2 separate regions of the Homo sapiens genome follow, and region 1 is linked to region 2. The links are contacts of gene promoters, found by promoter capture Hi-C in blood cells and fetal thymus (Javierre and others, 2016). All regions are on one chromosome and are shown on one strand. Each heading gives the region's core, a stretch centred on a gene start or on the middle of the fragment in contact. The rest is flanking DNA. Distances are from core to core; before and after follow the strand shown. Region 1 overlaps GUF1 (GTP binding elongation factor GUF1). Region 2 holds the start of FIP1L1 (factor interacting with PAPOLA and CPSF1).

Region 1 (5,583 bases), core at 466-2,965, 8.7 Mb before region 2:
AAACAGATCCTTGTTTAATTTTTGAACTGAGTATTAAACATCTGCCTTTGCTTTTTGTTTTCTCAGTGTTCTTATGTTAGTGTCAGTTGTTTCAAAAGTGCAGGCTACAAAAAAGAAACGAATATTTAACAGCTTTTATCAAGTAAAGTCAATAAATTTGCCATAATGCTCTTTCCTAAAAAATTAACTCACATTTACAGGTATCAATATTTTTGTTTCTCAGGGCCATGTTGATTTTAGTTATGAAGTATCCAGGTCACTTTCTGCTTGCCAGGGTGTTTTACTTGTGGTTGATGCAAATGAGGTAGGTATTTTTCATTTTGTATGATGTGATATGACATGACTATTTGGTTGTTTCAAGAGTTTTTCTTTAAAATGTGTTTTGGAAATAGAATTTTTGTGTTTGAAAAATAGATTTAATCTGTTACTTACTGAAAATCATATGGTTTCATCCTGTTAATCTGAAATATTATTACAATAAAGCATTCTCTGGAATTGACTAGTTTTTAAATTGGAATTGTTCAAAAGATTGTTGTATTTTTTTGAAGTGTGACATCATATTGTCAATGCATCTTACCAAAAAAACCCCACCAACTTTAGCAGTTCTTAATCTGAGGTTTCTATATCCATTTTTAGCAGATCTTAAGAATAAATCATTAGTTTTCAGATCATTTTAGGTGATTTTAAGGCAATAATTTGGAAGTATTAGGTTTTTAAAAAATCAGTAACATTACTAAGCTCTTTTGTTGTGTAAGCCGTAAAGACACTCAGCAGATGACCATGTAAGAGCTGTGAATATAAACTTTTGTTACATGTTTCTCACAAACTCTTCATTCAAAACCCAACTTTTTTTTAGTGGTGGTGGTGACCGTGTTGTGTTAAGCCGTTAAGCCTTTCCTGATCCCATCAAGGAAAGTCAATCTCTACCTTATGTAGGCAGTACTGGCCTTTATAAACTACCTTGATGACTGTGTTCTCTAATAAGCTTTGAGGTCCTTGAGAGTCCATGTTACATCTTTTGTTTCTCCAATGCCTGATGTAGTTTCTGGCACAGAAAAGGCCCTCCAATAAATGCTTTCTGAACTGAAAGGAATTATTACAGAGGATGATTCAGATGCATGGAAAAATAGGTATCATAGTTGAGCTGCCGTGTACCTTTCCTTAAAGGCTTCCTATCTCAAGCTTAGTAGACTGTCTGTTGGCTCACTCTACTTGATGTGATTATTGCTTTACCATCAGCGATTTTCATATTGACCCCAAAGACATAAGTTGGAGAGAAAAGCATGAAGGGTAGCTACATGGCATTTTGTTTAATTTTATTATTAGCATAACGCAAAATCTCTTGATGAAGATGTATAGAATGGTCTTAAATTACAAGTTTTGTGATATATAATAGAATGGTCATCTCAGTATCTTGTATCTTGATATTTTCAGGGAATTCAAGCCCAAACTGTAGCAAACTTCTTTCTTGCCTTCGAAGCACAGCTATCGGTAATTCCAGTTATAAATAAGGTAATTACAATGAGACAACAGTGTTGCTATTTCACTTTCTAAAAGTACAATTAATGTTTAAATGTCAGTTGTACTATTCATTATATGAGGGATCACCAGCTATTTATTAAATATATTGGTGGGATTTATCTCTTTGAATTGTATATAACAGAAGTGCAACTGAAACTCACCCTTGCACAGAATTGAGAAGGTAGTTCTCCTGAATTAACTTGTGGTAGCTGAGGGCCATTTCTGTAGGGAAGGGAAGCAGGGCAGATGAAACATGTTTGTCAGATTAAACCATACATAGGAAAAGAAGAGAAGTTTATAATCTAGGAAGAAACAATACAACACATGAAGCATGACAATTTAGTGCTAAACTGAGCTCTGTCTATAAACTTCCATTTCATATTTTAAAATTAATTTAGAATCTTAATTTTAAAATCTGCATTGCTTTAATTATATTTCTTGATAATGGAGTTAAGTTTAAAAGAAGGCCATAGGTAAGACAGCTTGTTGTCAGACTTAATGTTGTATTTAACTTAACCTTTAAAATCAGTTCACATGCTGCTTAATTGATAAATTACTACTGATCTCTTCTGCTGCCCTGGGTAGCTAACTGCTTAAGTTTTTTTTGCAAGCTCTGCTACTTAACTTCTCTTTTTCAATCATGGTTATTAAATTATACTGCTAATATATAGATTATTTTACTGCTTTTGAAAAAATATTGTAGAGGGGTCAGTTAGGTTAAAGTGGGTAAGCTTTTAATTACCTCCGAATACTGTTAATACATAATACATCTTATCTTTATTATACTTCACATAATGGATTTTTTTTTTTAAAGATAGATCTGAAGAATGCTGATCCTGAAAGGGTTGAAAACCAAATTGAGAAAGTGTTTGATATTCCAAGTGATGAATGTATTAAGGTAAAATACGTTCCTAAAAAGATTATACTTTGAAAAAAGTCTCAAGTAATTGGGCTAAGTGAAATTTCATGGTATTTGATAACCTGGCATTATATGCTGTTTTTTATAGTTTTACAAACTTCTTTTACTATTATTTCCTTTGATCCTTATCAAAAGCCCTTTTTATATTGTTAGGACATACAGAAATTATTGCGATGCTGTAGTTAAAGGAACTGAGGCTCAAAGGTTTTATCACTTTCCTAAGATCACAGGTTTAGTTAGCCAATGTGCCAGGACTAAAACACAGGCCTTCTGAAACTCCCTGCAGTATTTCTTGTGTGTCAGTTTGCCCAGTGGAAATACTGTCTTTGAAGAGCAGGTTCAAACTAATTTCAGGGCTTTTGTATGTATCATTCTTGGAACTGACAAAAACCTATTTTATAAAAAGCTAGTTGTAGTGCTAGGAAACAATAGATTTTATTTATACCAAAGTTGCTACCATTTTAAATTTGAATTTTTATTTACCTTTGAAATGATGATCTGCTTGTTAAACAGCCACAGCCAAACTGCTATACTACATGGTAGTGTAAAGTATGTCAGCACAGCAATGTAATGTTTTTCTTTCAAGCTAATTTAATTTTCAAAAGAGCAAGTTATATATGGTTTTATATTTTGGATTATGTTATATTAAAATACAATTAACTATTCTGATTTTAATCTTAATAAAATTCATTCAGATTCTTATTTGGTATATGCCAGCTAAGAGTATGGCAGTGAATAAGACAGACAAGACCCCTTCCTTTCTGCAGACAGTCAATAAATAAGTAAACAAAGAAGTAAGCATAGGAATTATTGACTAGGATAGAGATTGTCAAGGAAATTCATTCGACAAATTGTTATTATTCTAGGTGAAATACCATCATTAACAGTGAAAAGTCTTTTTTCTTAGAGAGACGTTATGACATGGAATAACTTAGCAAAAGCGTCTCTGATAAACTGAAACGTGGAGGAATGAATAATTTTCAGAAAAACATTCCAGGAAGAGAAAAGAGCATGTGTAAAGGACTTAAATTAGGAAAAGATTTGGCATGTTTACTGATCAGAAAGGTTGATTGGATGAGAAGGCTTTGTAGGGGTATGCAGGAATCAAGTCATGCTGGGACTCGTGCTGTGCTGAAGAGCTTGAAAATTATTCTAAGACAATGGAAGGATTTTAAAGCAAGAGAAACAAATTAACCAGTCATTCAGGTAGCCTTACAGAGAATGGATCAAAGAGGTATAAGAAGAGATACAGGGAATCCAGCTATTAATGGTAGCCCAGATGTGAAATTACTATGGCTCAGTATTAACTATCCATATGAAAAGGAGATTATGATCCAGGAGGAAACAATATACATAAAACATAACAGTTCATTGCTAAACTGAGCACTGTCTACAAACCTCCATTTCATACTTTAAAATTAATAAAGAACCTTAATTTTAAAATCTGCATTGCATTAAATGATGTTTCTTGATTTGGAGATAAGTATATAAGAAGCACAGCTGCCCATAGGCAAGATAGCTTGTTGTCAGATACAAGAAACGAACCAGACCATTTATTTGATTTCTTTTTTCCAGTAATGTTAAGCTGTTCTGTATATGGGCATAGAAAAAACACATAATTGGATGCAGTCAAGGTTGAGGTTTTGTCAGCTGCCTCTAATAAGAAGAGAACAGAAAGTGGTTGAACCAGAGTGAATGTAAATGATGGATCTTGGAGTCCCATCTGGGAAAAGATAGAAACAGAGTGGAGGGTGAAGCTGATGGACAGCATCAAGTAGTATATTCAATAGTTACAAGTTAAGGACTATTGTAAAGAAAGTACTACAGTCTAGAGCAGTAGTTGTCAGTGGTGGGTGGTTTTGCCCCTGGGCAAATATTTGGAGATATTTTTGGTTTTCACATCTTGGGAGGGATGCTACCAGCATCTTGTGGGTAAATGAGGTGCCCTGGTTGCTGCTGAACATCCTGTAATGCACAGGACAGCCTCCCAAAACAAAGAATTATCTGGCCCAAAATGTCAGTAGGGCTGAAACTGAGAAATCCTAGTCTAGAGTGAATGTGAAGAGTAAGAAGTTTGAAGTCAGGATTTCAGAGATAGTCCATTTATTACCAGTGATAAAGGTCAGTCATACCATGTGGCTTGAGTGTTGGCTTGCTTTTCTGGTGTGAGAACACTAAAGTAGTAGTAAGATGCCTTATGGTTTTATGCCATCCACATACATTGTTTATCCACACAACAACCTTGAGATTTAGGCAGAATATGAATAATCACTTCATTTTTTAGATGATGAAATTTATGCTCAAAGAGATAGATACTGGTGAAATACATGGATTCAATGCAAAGACATGATTGTTACCCAGATTTCGAACTATTCCTCTTTCAATACCATAATTAGGACTCTCTTGTAATTCCATTCTAGAACTGTAGAACTACGTAACTATAATAGAAAAAGTATTTGTCAATATACTGTTTGCTTTGTTCTTTTCCTTTTGGTGTATTTCTCAAATTGATAACTATTGGAATTTTTTTTTCCTTCTGATCATAAGTCACAGGTCATCAAGATAGAAAAGTATAGTCTTAACTTTAAATGCTTATATTTTTCACATGTATCTTTTTAGATTTCTGCTAAACTTGGAACAAATGTTGAGAGTGTTCTTCAGGCAATTATTGAAAGAATCCCCCCGTGAGTATTTGGTGATTTTTGTACTAGTTGTCTCTATTTAATAGTTCAAAAACTGTCCATGTTTAATAGTTCAAAGACTGTCAGCTTGAACTGTTATTTTAGCTTAATGGATGTGGCAAATATTCTTGCAGGCAGCGAGAATAAATTTATTTGCTTTTAGTAATACATAGAAGGCAAGTACAGTAAAGTAAAAGAAAAAGTAAAGATGATTGATAGAGGTCTTTTCATGACAATCATTATAAAATATACCTCAGTACATTGGCAGTTATTTTCCTTTGCTTTAAGCTGAACAAATATATTCATAAATAATTTGTTAAAACTAGAGGTTATTAAATCTAATATATTTTATAAAAAGGTCTTTTTATTTAGGCTGTTGTGTATCAAACTTTCTCAAGAACTCAAGTACAATATCTAAGTTGAAAATAAGAATTTTATTAAGATTTTAATTTAGTGTATATA
Region 2 (5,066 bases), core at 1,132-3,631:
TATGTTTATTATCTGACTCTCTTATTAGAATCAAAGCTCCACAAAAGAAAGAACTTTGTTTTATTCACTGTTGAATCTACATAGCTGGAAGAGTTCCTGGCAAAACAAATGGGAAGAGATAAAATGGGATTCAGGAAAGATTTCACAAAGGTGATTATACCCCCAGAGAGTTTAGAAGGATGCAAGAGATTATCATAAAAAGATAAGGGAGCTGGGAATAGCTGGCAGAAGTGTGTTCAAAGGTAAGAAAGATTAAAACCACATGGTTTGTTTAAATAATGTGAGATATTGGTTGGGCGTAAACCCTTCATTTGTGCTTCTATTACAACACATTCACCTCTTCTCTTGTAGGAGAGTTGTTTACTGCCCCTCTGTCTTTCTCAATAACTTCAGAGTTCTTTAAGGGGTGGGACTGTTTCACTCATGTCTTCATTTTCCAAGTTCTTAAACAGAGCAGATATTCTGTAATTGCTAAATAAATAAATGATAAAACAATATTTATTCATCAAGGAGCAAGAAAACTCATTTAGTTGTTCAATCAAAATGGATTTCTCTCTGTTGACAAGCGAATGCCCTGTTTGTAAACTTTATAAATGAAAGAGACCTCAGAGATCATCTAACTTGGCCTTTCCATTTTATAGATGAGAAAACTGAAGCATAGAAAGGTTGATTGCCTGACTATACAACCTGCTAGGTATAATGAAGAACTGAGGCCAGGCCTGGTGGCTCATACATGTAATCCCAGCACTTTAGGAGGCCTAGGTGGAAGGATTGCTAGAGACCACGAGTTCCAGACCAGCCTAGGCAACATGGTGAGACATTGTCTCTACAAAAAATAAAAAATTAGCCAGGTGTGGTGGCACCTGCTTGTCTGTAGTCCCAGGTACTCAGGAGGCTGAAGTGGGAGGACTGTTTGAGTCTGGGAGGTAGAGACTGCAGTGAACAGTGACCCTGCCACTGCATTTCAGCCTGGGTTACAGAGTAAGACTGTTTTTTAAACAAAACAAAACAAAACAAAACAAAACAAAACAAAACAAAAAAACAGGCCGGGCGTGGTGGCTCATGCCTGTAAGCCCAGCACTTTGGGACACCAAGGTGGGCAGATCACCTGAGGTCAGGAGTTCAAAACCAGCCTGGCCAAAATGGTGAAACCCCCTCTCTACTATAAATACAAAAATTGGCTGGGCATGGTGGTGCGTGCCTGTAATCCCAGCTACTTGGGAGGCTGAGGCAGAAGAATCGCTTGAGCCCAGGAGGTGGAGGTTGCAGTGAGCAGAGATCGCACCACTGTACTCCAGCTGGGCAACAGAGTGAGACTCCGCCTCAAATAAATAAACAAACAAACAAAAAACCTAGACAAACCTAGAGCTCCAGTTTGAACCATGGTATGTCATCTTTTCACTGGAAGATGTGCTTTCAGAAGCGGCCTGAACATTTGGTTTACCTATTAAAATAAAAACTGTACATACTTTATGATCTATCTTTGAGAAACAGACAAATCTGCAAGGAGCCGTGTGGATCTTCATTGTCATTTTTTGTTGTAGTTAAAAGTGTAAAGTCAAAAGCAATCTGGGTGTACATCAATGGAGAAATAGCCATATTCACTCTGTGATAGCCATACTATGCAATTTTATGAAGCACTTAAAATAGATATAGTTTGATTCATACTAAAATGAAAAAGAGCTCCAAGACACGGATGCTAAAAAAAAAGAAAAAAAAGGAAGTCGAAGGATGATACTATACTGTACTGTACTATTTAAGACTTGTCAATCTCAGGTTCTCCCACCAAAACAGCACAACACATGAAGTAAGTGTATAGGAAATTTCGGAATGATGAACTCCAAACAGGATATGCATCTGTAGCAAGGGCTACCTCCGGAGAGAAGGGTAGGGGAATGAGGCGGTCTTTGACCTTGACAGTAATTTATGGTTTTTAACAAGGAGAGTGCATTCTTCATCTATTAGTTTTGCTTTTGTTGGCTGTGAAAATTAATTTTTTGAGAAATAGTACTGATTGTGATTTCTTCTCTATTCAGTGAGGAAAGGGAGTGACAGGTAATGATTCTGTATCAAGGCTGATTAAAGAATAAAAGAAGGCCTTTCTGAAGATTAAAAAACAAATAAAAAGTTGAGAAGAAAGAGCACGAAGAGTAGAAGGGAACAATGGTGTACTCGCCAGCAATGGCAATACGGGTTATTAAAAAGAAGGGTGGGGGCGGGGAACCCTGGCCGACTCAGGACGCCACGGGAGGAAGCCACGCAAAATAGCAAACCGGGATCCTAGAGGGGCGGGGCCCACCTCAGCGCGCAGGCGCAACCAGGCCCAGGTGGCCGCCGCGGAAGCGAAGCCACCTATACGCGCCGCGCCGCTTGGGTCTCCTGCGCATGCGCAGACGGACCTGCGCTGGAGGCTTCATCTTTGCCGCCGCTGCCGTCGCCTTCCTGGGATTGGAGTCTCGAGCTTTCTTCGTTCGTTCGTCGGCGGGTTCGCGCCCTTCTCGCGCCTCGGGGCTGCGAGGCTGGGGAAGGGGTTGGAGGGGGCTGTTGATCGCCGCGTTTAAGTTGCGCTCGGGGCGGCCATGTCGGCCGGCGAGGTCGAGCGCCTAGTGTCGGAGCTGAGCGGCGGGACCGGAGGGGATGAGGAGGAAGAGTGGCTCTATGGCGGTACGAAACTTCCTGTCTCTGTCTCTCGGGTTCTCTCAGGCCTCCCCTCTTGGCCCTCAAACGGCCGGCGTCCCTGGCCTCTCGCGCCGCCGCTTCGGGCCTCTGGTTGGGAGTCCTGTCCGGCCTGACTTAGGCCGAGCGCGGCGTGCGCGTGCCCCCAGTCCCCGCGGCGGTCTCCCGCCTGGCCCACGCCCACCATGCGCATCCACCCCTGTGGCGGCCGGGCCGGGCTGGGGGGCTGTGACCGGTCCTGGCCCCCGGCTTCGCTGTGCTTTCCCCGAGGCGTCTCGATCGCCTAGCTGCTGCGCTCTTTACCCTTGTTTTTTTCTGTCGATTCTGAGGTGGTGGTTTTTGGTGTCTGTTTTTGCCCTGTGGCCTTAGGGTGCCCTTCCTGTCCCTTCTTTCAGAAACAGTCATTCTGTAATAATAGCTAAATAAAGTTAATGCTGTACAACTAACGTCTTGTTTCTTGATGGTCAGTTTGTATGGAATGCACCTGCAAGGGTACCTCCTTGTCTGAAAGTCGTGCTTTAAAAATAATTAATTAAGAGAGAGAGAGAGAAAGATGGCCCATAAAGAAAACTCTGAATGTCTCCTGTATTAAGGTGAAGTTATTCTTTTTTAAGAGACTACCGTTTAACCTACATCATGGAGGTATCTCATGACCCTTCGGCTTATAGTTTTCAGTGTCATCTCATGTATTTGTTTTTCTCAAAATAAATTTAATGCATCATGTACTTCTCTCTAGAAGGGTACTTGTTTGACATCTGGTTTTTAACTTTAAGTCACAATCCCTTCTTGCTTGTTAACACCAGATTTGAAAGTTAATGTTTGTTCCTTGCCTAAAACATATATTCTTGATTGTCTTTAGAATAGAATAGTAAAAGTGCACTTTGGGCACCATGCAGGTCCTTGATGATGTGACTTTGATAAACTTGTAAAAAAAAATCGTTTGGTGGCAAGATTTAGCATTAGTTACTACTCTTTGAAATGTGAATGTGTAGGATTTCTTTTACAAAGATCTGGAAATCTTCATTACCTCTTAAATTTAAGCTTATTTTTATAGCAGTAAAGTCTGATTTTTTTTTCCATAAAATAAGTATCTTGTTAAGTAATTATAAGGTGATCTAACTTTGGATGTGCTTATAGGCCCATGGGACGTGCATGTGCACAGTGATTTGGCAAAGGACCTAGGTTAGTGCTTGTGATGATCACTTCAGATTTTCATAATACTAGTTTCTTTAAGAGTGGTTTCTTTATTTTGTTTGCTTATTTATTTATTTGTTTATTTTACTTGGTAGATGAAAATGAAGTTGAAAGGCCAGAAGAAGAAAATGCCAGGTTAGTGAAATTTTCTGTTGATGCCTATTACACAGGTTGTGTGAAACAATGGTTCTGTCAGTTGTCAAAATTATTTTCTTACAATCATTGGCTTCATTACAACACTGACTTACAACATTTTGGAGGACATTGAATCCTTTAAGGATTATTCCAGTTTCAGGACCTAATCTTACGCCAATTCTATTTGTTGGTAGTTTAAAGGACAAAGTTTTTGAACTTAGGATTGGACTGATTTTACACTGTTAAGTAACTTGTTACTCTTAAGTGAATTCAGTAGTGAAGTATACAGTATAATCGTTAAGCTACTGATAAAAATATTTTAACTTAATTGAAAATGTTTTTAAGTAAATCAGGAACACTCCAAACTACTGCTTTTCCAGTTTATTAACATTTTTGATGATATAATGGCAGTTTGGTTGTAATTTCAATGCTATGTATTGTTTGCATTCAAAATGTAATTAGCTGATTTGTTATAAGGTTGATTTCTTTGTTAGATTGTAAGAAAGATGTAAGTGTTCATTTATAGAACATATACAGGGAGTCAGAATTTTACCCCAGATTTCAAAAAGCAAGCCATGTAAAGAAGTACATGGAGATGTCGGCTTTACCCTGACCACATGCATTAGTGTCTGTAATGGAGGGAGAGGTAGTTAGAAGATTTTAAGGAATATTTGGGTTTAAAAAGTGGAAGATATACAACTTCATACCGAGTAAGCTGCAATCGAAAAGATAAAACAGGTGTTAGTGAGGATATGGGGAAATAAAACCCTCATACACTTCTGGTGGGATTGTAAAATGGTGCAGCTGCTTTGAAGAACAGCCTGGCCATTTTCTCAAATGGTGAAACATGGAGTTACCATGTGAGTCCTCCACCTTAGAGGAATGAAAACATATTCAGACAAAAACTTGTACGTGAATATTCATAGCAGCATTATTCTTAATAGAAAGTGGAAAAAGAAAACCTCGCAGCTGCATCAACTGATGAATGGATAGATTAAATGTGTTATATCCATACAGCGGAATATTATTTGGCAAGGACAATAAAATGAAGTACTGGTAGA

What was found. The method cuts DNA at HindIII sites, captures the fragments that hold promoters and counts their contacts. A CHiCAGO score of 5 or more calls a contact.
Region 1: a contact is called between a fragment that was not itself captured here and the fragment with the promoter of FIP1L1 in region 2, in 3 of 17 cell types (total CD4 T cells, monocytes and non-activated CD4 T cells). The highest score is 8.0, in total CD4 T cells.

The regions. Positions count from the first base shown.
Region 1 is chr4:44,680,900-44,686,482 of GRCh38, forward strand. It overlaps GUF1 (GTP binding elongation factor GUF1), which reads left to right. Exons shown (of 17, transcript NM_021927.3): 4 at 224-304; 5 at 1,435-1,512; 6 at 2,336-2,419; 7 at 5,060-5,124. Among named protein-coding and RNA genes, the nearest start is that of GUF1, 5.3 kb to the left of the region's middle. The HindIII fragment of the contact is 1,070 bases long and covers 1,181-2,250 here.
Region 2 is chr4:53,375,260-53,380,325 of GRCh38, forward strand. FIP1L1 (factor interacting with PAPOLA and CPSF1) reads left to right here and starts at 2,382. Exons shown (of 18, transcript NM_030917.4): 1 at 2,382-2,664; 2 at 3,814-3,858; 3 at 3,966-4,005. The coding sequence starts at 2,580. LOC105377654 (a long non-coding RNA gene) reads right to left here and starts at 2,481. Exons shown (of 3, transcript XR_007058118.1): 1 at 2,400-2,481; 2 at 338-471. RefSeq lists enhancers at 2,100-2,648, 2,450-2,539, 2,590-2,709, 2,649-3,197 and a silencer at 2,870-2,959. The HindIII fragment of the contact is 4,469 bases long and covers 1-3,715 here.